2 separate regions of the Homo sapiens genome follow, and region 1 is linked to region 2. Evidence: promoter capture Hi-C in human tissues and cell types (Jung and others, 2019). All regions are on one chromosome and are shown on one strand. Each heading gives the region's core, a stretch centred on a gene start or on the middle of the fragment in contact. The rest is flanking DNA. Distances are from core to core; before and after follow the strand shown. Region 1 overlaps PSKH1 (protein serine kinase H1). Region 2 holds the start of NRN1L (neuritin 1 like).

Region 1 (3,986 bases), core at 35-2,534, 33 kb before region 2:
GGCTTTTCCCAAGGGAACCTTCCTGGCCAGGTATGGGGGCATCTGATCATCCTCATGGGATCCTCACACACAGACAGCACAAGCATCCAGCACTTGACATGCAGCAGCCCCAGCAGGCTGGCAGGGAAGAAGGGCTTAGGGACAGATGCCTCATAGCAAAGAATTCTAAACTGATTTGTGTTTGCTCGTGCTGTCAGCTATTGAGACAGTCGTGGGAAAGCCATCCTCTGACTCTGGGAGCAGGGGTCAGTGAGAAGAGAGTTGAGCTGATGGGTCCATCACAGTCCCCACCCACACTGAAGGTGAGAAAAGTCAGGCAATTAAAGCATCCAGGAGAATCCAAGCATAAGCCAGGAAACACGCTCCCCGCTTCCCTGCCTCCACTCTGCCACCAGCATATACATTTGGTCTCCTGCTCTCCAGACACCCGGACAGCGCTCCCCATGACTCTGGGATGAGGTCCTATCCCTGCTCACATGGCTGCTCCTTGTGACATATGCGGGGAGATGAGGGGCAGGGAGGGAGACAGAAAGTCAGAGCATAGGACCAGGCTGCATAACCAAGCCCCGTCACCTAGAGAGCACTGAGACATGCCACATTCTCTGCATCTCATTTTATCTTCTACATCCCAAGGCATGTTAGAGTCACTTTAAGAAGTGGGGAGGTCGAGTGTGGTGGCTCACACCTGTAATCCCAGCACTTTGGGAGGCCAAGGCAGGCAGATCACCTGAGGTCAGGAGTTCCAGACCAGCCTGGCCAACGTGGTAAAACCCCGTCTCTACTAAAAATACAAAAATTAGCCAGGTGTGGTGGCTGGCACCTATAATCCCAGCTACTTGGGAGGCTGAGGCAGGAGAATTGCTTGAACCCAAAAGGTGGAGGCTTTGGTGAGCCGAGATCACACCACTGCACTCCAGCCTGGGCGACAGAGTAAGACTCCATCTCAAAAAAAAAAAAAAAAAGAACTACAGGTGGTCAAGCTCATTGCCCCTTCAGGTATACTTAGCCCCAGATCAATGTATGGTCAACCTGCAGACCAGACACCCAACCCTGGGAGGCCACCTCCCACCAGCCCTTGTCACCCAGGTAGCAGCAGAGTGGCTATGAAGGTGGGCTTCCTCTCCCAACAGTACTCTGTCCCCTGCCCAGCAGCACTCACAAGGCTCTGTGAGAAATTCTACCCAAGCCCACCTGTTCCTAGTACAGTCACCTGGGCTCACCCACAGCTCAGAGACTGGCCAAGCAGAGGAGGGTGATAATTCAGGATGCTGAATGCAGCAGACAGCAAAGCTCCTAATGGCATCACTCTAATATCAATCCTACAAGAGCCCCTTCATCCGTCCTGCCTCTAGGAATAGAACTCTTGACAAAAGCACTGACATCAAGGATGTCACATTTCATGTCAAGTGAATCACAGACTCTCTGCATTGGAGGACCCTGACAGTTCTCTAGCATGAGTCTGTAGCTGATGACTCACCTTCTGTGTCATCCTTTAGAAACAGCTCCTCCAGGCCTCCTGTGATAGGAAGCCGCCTCTCAAGGTGACTGTGTCCTCAAACTGCTCTCACATTCACACAGGCCTTCGCTACCTCTCCCAACCTGTGTCTCCCCACCACTTCCAGCATGCCCTCTCCACTCCAGCGTGCCCTCTCCACTCCAGTGCCTCTGGGTGCTGGGTAAACATTCAGATTTTTCCTTTCCAGTCATCTCCTCCTCAGCATTTACCCCTCTTCCAAGAGTCTTGTATTTGCCCTAAAAGTTGACAAGCACACACCAGCCCTGGGCCTTTAAATCCTCCCCCTGCCTGTGCCCACAGGCAGCTGTGGCCAGCAGCCCCCTAAGCGCATTGCCAGCAGGCTCTCTGCTTCCTCCTGGAGTCTGGCCCCTTGAGGGGAGCACTCCACTGGCTGCACAGCCTGTCTGCCTGCCAGCAGTCACATTTGGGACGCTTCCCAGGGCATCACCAATAGCCACTGGTGCTTCCCTCAGGAGAAGCCAAGAGAAAATTCCCCCACCAGTTATCACTTATAAATACTGCAGTTCAACCCAGCATACAGGTACCACTGTGCACTAAGCCTGGACACGACAGTGGACAGCATATGTATTGATGTACATGCTGTCCTCAAGGACCCTACAGGCTAGACAGGAGAGATGTGTCCACTGATCAGCAGCCAGAAAGCACTGAAACAAGAAACCAGCAACGTGCTGAGGCACACATACCAGGGAGAGCAGACTGCAGCACTAGACAGGCCAAGAACTCTGAAGCCAAGACAGCCTGGAATCAAATCCCAGATGTGCCACCCTCCAGTCGGGAGACCATGGCCAAGTTATGTAACCTCACCATCCTCAGTTTCCTCATCTGTAAGGTGGGGGATTACGTACCACCTGGCAGGGTTGTCATAGATTGGAGATGGGGGGTGTAGAACATTCAGCCCTGGGTCTGCTACTTAGTGGGCACCACACAATGGCAGTAGGCAGCATTATTTCTAAAGGAAACAACTAAGACCGATACTGGGAGCAGCGTGAACAGTTGAGGCAGAAGCTTGGTGTGGAGAGTGAATGGGGGCAATGGCTCAGGCCTGTGGTGTGCAGGGAGTGGGGTGGGGTCTAGGGCATGGGCTTCAGGCTGGGGGATCTGGAGTGCCAGGATGGTAGGCAGGACCCCACATGCTCTCCAGGTCAGAGGGTAGCCTGGAATCCTCTCCAAGTCTGCCCATACAAGCTGATGTCCCTCCTGCAGAGCTAGGACTCTGCTCCATACTCCTTCACCTCCTATACTGTGGCTTACATATGCCATGTGGATCCCACTCCCTGGGATCCCTGATCTGCCCCAAACATCCCCAGGAGGACAGGATGGAATTATTCCAGTAGCCTCCAGCTAGCCTTCCTCCTGCCAGGCTCCATTCCCACTTTCTGCTGCCTTCCTCCTCCATTACCCAGAACCCAGAGGGCTCCTCCCACAGTGCAGAGGGCTCCCAACAACAAACACCAGACCTGCCCCAGCCTCTTCAACCTCTGCTCTGTCACTCCCAATCTCCTGTTTATTCTGGAGCACTCAGCAATGCTCCCTTCTCTGGGCCTCCTCCTTCTCAAAACTCATCTTCTGCAGGAAGCTTTCTATTCAAGTCCATGGATGCCACTGAGCCTGACAGAGGACTGGGGCTGCATGGACAGAGCTTGCAGGAAATAGGCACACCAGACCCGGCCTGGTGTACAGGGGAGAGCACTCTATGGGGTCAGGGAACAGGAAAGGTGCCCCTAGAAAGGCACCAAGCACCACGAGACACTCGCTGGTGAAGAATGCATACCTCCAAACGCTGCTGCGTCAGAGGTCCTTCATTCACACAGCAACAACCCCCTCATCATGGAACACTCTCTCTCTCACAGGTTATCCTGGCAGAGGCTTGCTCACTTACATGGCCTTCCTAATGGCAAACACCTATTACACATATAGGACAGATGGCTGGAGTGGGTGGGGTCAGGGCCCAACCACCTGACCTGAGCACCATAGTCCATGTTCCAGACTGCCCAGGCCCAGTGGCTCTATGCCAAGGCCTGTGTTCACATGTGTCTGCCAATGCGGGTTCATTCTATGGCCATTCCCTATTCTAGTTCCTTCTCCCCAGGCAATCTCAACCTCTAGGGATAGGAAGAACAGGCCTTCACGTCTCTTGCATTTTCCCCAGGTGTGAGCAGGTGTGCTTGTGGGTGGGCAGTGGCCAGGAGAACAACAATAACAAAAAATGCCTGTCCTAGTGTCCTGGGATAGAGCTATAAAAGCATGCCAGGTTGCTGGCAGGAGCTTGAAGGAGGTGCTGCCTCTGCTTACCAGGAGACCGTCTAGCTGTGAAGTGAGTGGCTGGAAGGAGTGATTGCTGGGTCCCATTCTAGCGATGTCTGTCCTCACCTCCATGCAGAAAAGTAAAGAGAAACCAGGGCTCTGCCAGGGAGTGGCAGAGGCTGGTACTTCTCAGACTCCTGATGTT
Region 2 (4,121 bases), core at 339-2,838:
GGCCCTCAGCCCCGCCCATTCCATCCAAGCAAAGGATCAGTTTCTAGGAGTCCCTGGCCCCAGCCGCAAGCAAGGCCACAGCCAGGAGAAAGGAAGGAGCTTACTACAAATATAAATACCTTTAATGAAAAGCCCTGCTGCGCTCTGCAGAGCCTGGACAACCACCGCCAGAGCAGGGCTGGAGGTACGGGCGCTGCTACCCAACCCAACAAGCTAGGCCAGAGGCCTCAGGAGGTAGGCCAGAGCCAGAGCAGCCGCCAGCAGTGGGGGCGCAGGGGCCATGGGGAGTGCAGGCGCTGTAGCCCGCAGCGTCTCCTGGTTGGTTTCGGAGCCTGTGCCGCGCTCCCGAACATGCACCGGGGCACCGCACAGAGTGTGCAAGTTATTCGGACGGGGGGCCTGGCGAGCTTCTTGCTGTAGTGATTCCCACACTGCAGCTGCCTCCTCCGGACAGCCTGACAGGACCTGAGAGGCACAGGCATGGAAGTCATTCCAAGACCTGTTAAGGGAGTGGGATTAGGGGGATTAGGTGAGGCAAGGAGACTTTAGCTTGGGAAATAAAAGGTTCAGTCCCCAATGGTGGCACAGGTTGGGCCACTGCCTCACACCCGCCGGTACCTGCAGATGGTCTCCAGCTCGCCTCCGCGGCCCATGCTGTCCCCCAAGCGGATGAGACACTCGGCGAAGCCCTGGTATATGGTGTCACATCGGTTTGGGCCCGCTGCAGCTGCTGCCAGGGGAGGTAAAAGGACTAGAAGTGGGGCGGGGGTGGGGTGGGGAAGGAATGGTAGATAGGATGAGCCAGGCTCATCCCCCAGCCCCCAGGGGCTTGTTTACCTGGGAGCACTCTGGGGATGTGACTCAGCGGAAAAAGGGTGCCCCAGGGAACTAAAGGGCAAGTCTGGGGATTACCTACCCAGGCCCCCTTCAAGGTAGGACCCAGACTGGGATTTGTACAGGGGAAGGGGGTGTTGTGTACCCCAGGTCAGCTCTTCCTTTGAGCTTCTGGGGCCGCAGGTGGGGTGACAAGGGTCCATGTAAAGGAGTCAGGACAGGGTGGAGGGGAGGGAGGTCCAGAGGCCCCGGACCAGGAGCAGGTGCATCTCTCTGCGGTTTAGACAAGCTTTGCTTGGCCCTCCGAACTCTCTCTAAAGATAAATATTTTTGGAGAGACAAGGCAGGATGCAGAGGTATTGGGATCCAGGCCAGACCCTCAGAGAGGACTTAGGGATCCTACGACTGGTCTATAAGTCCTGCCATTGGCATGTCTCCCTTTATCATAAGAGGGGATGCAAATTTTGGAGTCCTTCTCCCATAACTGGGGCTGTTTGTGCCTCTCACTTTCTGTCCTGAAGTCACCAGCACACCTTCCTGGAGCCCTTACAACTCTTCTCCACCCTGGCACCCAGCGTTCCCACACACCCTATGCCCAGCCTGGCTTGGCTGGGCGAGAAGGGGGTGTGGCCCGGGCCCCGGATGCCCGCACTCACCGAGGGGCAGCAACAGCAACGGCCTCAGGGCATGGGGTGGTTGCCGGCAGCAGCAGCGGCGGCGGCAGCAGCGCATCATCCCTGGCTGAGAGCCTAGTGCAGGAGCTAGCTGCTTGGAGTGCAGCCCGTCCGCCCAGCCCCCGGAGGGAGGGACGGTGATTGGATGGGAGCTGGGGGTGGGGCTCCGAACCCAGCCGGCGGCTCCGCCTCCAACACCCAGATGGGAAAAGGAGCGAGGAGACCTCAGAGAGCAGAAATTCGCAGGAGCACAGGCTGGTGCTGGGCAGGCCCCTGGACCCTCACTCCATAGAAGGAGGGAGAAGGGAGATCTGGGAAGGCAGTTGGAGCAGATGAGTGGGTAACCCGGCCCCTTGGCTGGGTTGGCCTCGACAGAGCTCCACGGGCAAGAGATGGGCAGAGAACGAACAGACGGCAGTTATGAGAGTCACACCAAAGACAAACCAAAAGCACACACATACTCCATTTTATTCCAAAAGCATTTAATTGAATTTCTCAATGTTTTTCAAAAACAAAAAGATCCAAATTAGAGGTAAAAAGGAACATGGAAAATTCCACTCAAGTGGTGTCACGATCTCAGGGTCATGCTCCAGGCATGGCAGAACCCAAGCAGGCGCAATACCTGCCCTGGGCCCAGCTAAACCTTCTGACTACCACACGCTGTAGACCACGGCCAGTGCTCCCTGCTCCCTGACCCCCAAACACCCCAGAGATGGGGGCCTGAGCAGGTAAAGGCCAGCCGTGACCCTGCCCCAGCCTAGGCCTGTCTGCTGGCCTTCAGTGCCATCCCACCCCTGGGCAAGGCAGGCTTAGCAGCTAAGGGAGGCTGGGGGTCACGAGGCCATGCAGCATGAGGCTGAGACGCCGAGCTGCTTTGCCAAGTGAGTTGTGTGGCTCAGCCTGCAGGAACTGAAAAAGCTTTTGGCGCACCTGGGCCATAACGGAGCCCATGTGGTCCCGAGTGATGGGGTCACTGTGGTCCAGGTGCATCACGGCCTCTTCCAGGTAGCTGGGGATGGGGGGGAAAGGACAGGCTACAGGTGGGTGCCAGCAGACGGGAGCGCCCCCTGGTGGCACCGAGGCCCAGAGGGAACCCTCTGGGTGAAGGCAGAAAGGACTGGTGGAGAAAATTAGGGAGAGGATTCAGGCAGAAGTGGGCGTCAGCTTCAAACTGCTCCCTCCCACTGCCCCACTCCCCAGCTCATCTCCCCATCCCTGGCTGTCCCCACTTACCTGAGCTTGAGGTCAGTTCGAGTGCCAAGGTCAGATGCCAGCTGCTGGATGAGGGAAAGGAGCACAGGCTGGGAGAGCGGGCAGGGTGGCTGCCCAAAAACCTGGGCTGGGTCCACAGTTTCACACACATACAGCACCAGGTTCAGGTCAGCAGCTGTCAGCGCCTGGAGGAGAAAAAAGCAGCAGTGTTTATAGCAAATATCAGGATGGAATGTCTGCTTGTCTGAACTGTGTGGCCTGGGGGAGGATGACCACAGGGTGGGCTAGTGAGAGCTCCAGAGGGACTCAGAGAGAGCCTGTAGGGCTGTGTAGTTACCCTAGGGGATTGGGAAATGGGTTCCTGAGAAGGGTAGTTGTAAAGCAAGGTGGGCTAGGTGGGAAGAAAGGGGTCCAGGAAGAGGAAGCAGCAGGGACAATGGCCTGGAGGCCAAAGGGAACCAAGAACAGTCTGCTGGGGCCAGAAGGTGCAAAGGTGGTGGGTGGAGTAGAATGTATGGTATGTGGGCCTTGTCAAGAGACACGTGACCCTTAGCAGGGCCTAATGCCTATCGTACCTGCTGGAAGGCCTGATTGAGGTGGCCCTGCTGCAGCAGCTGCAGGATATGGGCTTGCTGGGCCTGGCAGTCAAGGTGGGCAGAGGGGACAGGTGTGCCAGCAGCTGAGCGCATGGCCTGCATGATGCTGGAGGTGACGGCGGCCTGCTGCTCCTTGAGCGCCACACTCACCTCACCCTTAACGATGCGCTGTACCTGTGCTAAAATGGACTCCTGCAGGCTGCAAAGGGAAGTGAGTGAGGTGAAGTGGACAGGGAGCCTAGTCTGGCCTTTCTCAAGCCCACCACCTTGCCCAGTACTCTGCCCACACACCTGCCCACAGCCACATGCAGCTGGTGCTGCACCTCAGCACGAACACTGCCGGCCACGGTGGCTGCCATCTGCTCAGTGGCACTCTGCAGTGTGCTGACCAGGCCCCGCAGCTGGGCTAGCACAGGCTCCCTGGCCTCCTGTTCCCGTGCCTTCCGGCTCTTCATGTGGCTTTCTAGCTGCTGCAAGTCTGAGGGGTGACCACAGGGACTATAAGAGGAACAGTAGGAAAGAGGATAACCCCTCCCACCTTGGGCCATATGACCCCACTCACATTCCTGTGTCCCCAGCCGGAAGCTATCATTGATTTGCTGGAACATGGCCTGGCAGCTCTTCTCAAAGGCCGGCAGCACCACACTCTGGAAGGCTTCCCGGTAGGCAGCCTGCATCGGCCCTTGTAATGTGTCTGCAGCTGCTCGGGCGATGGCATCAGTCAAGTTCTGGGGTTAGAGGGAGGGGCCAAGTTGAAAGCCTGAGCCCAGCCTGGCCTGACTAGGCCCAGGAACCACCACCTCCA

What was found. Contacts are between HindIII fragments. The study calls those that stand out against the background at their distance.
Region 1: a fragment that was not itself captured here is called in contact with the fragment with the promoter of NRN1L in region 2 in 6 of the 25 tissues and cell types used here (IMR-90 fibroblasts, dorsolateral prefrontal cortex, mesenchymal stem cells and 3 more).

The regions. Positions count from the first base shown.
Region 1 is chr16:67,915,569-67,919,554 of GRCh38, reverse strand. All of the region lies in intron 2 of PSKH1 (protein serine kinase H1), which reads right to left. Among named protein-coding and RNA genes, the nearest start is that of CTRL, 14 kb to the left of the region's middle. RefSeq lists enhancers at 1-163, 3,316-3,839. The HindIII fragment of the contact is 5,309 bases long and covers 1-3,938 here.
Region 2 is chr16:67,882,352-67,886,472 of GRCh38, reverse strand. It overlaps NRN1L (neuritin 1 like), which reads right to left and starts at 1,588. Exons shown (of 3, transcript NM_198443.2): 1 at 1,491-1,588; 2 at 619-751; 3 at 105-499. The coding sequence starts at 1,569. The coding sequence ends at 214. EDC4 (enhancer of mRNA decapping 4) reads right to left here. Exons shown (of 29, transcript NM_014329.5): 25 at 3,879-4,044; 26 at 3,608-3,794; 27 at 3,296-3,515; 28 at 2,742-2,905; 29 at 1,974-2,517. The coding sequence ends at 2,325. RefSeq lists enhancers at 994-1,501, 1,502-2,011, 2,317-2,496. The HindIII fragment of the contact is 2,833 bases long and covers 533-3,365 here.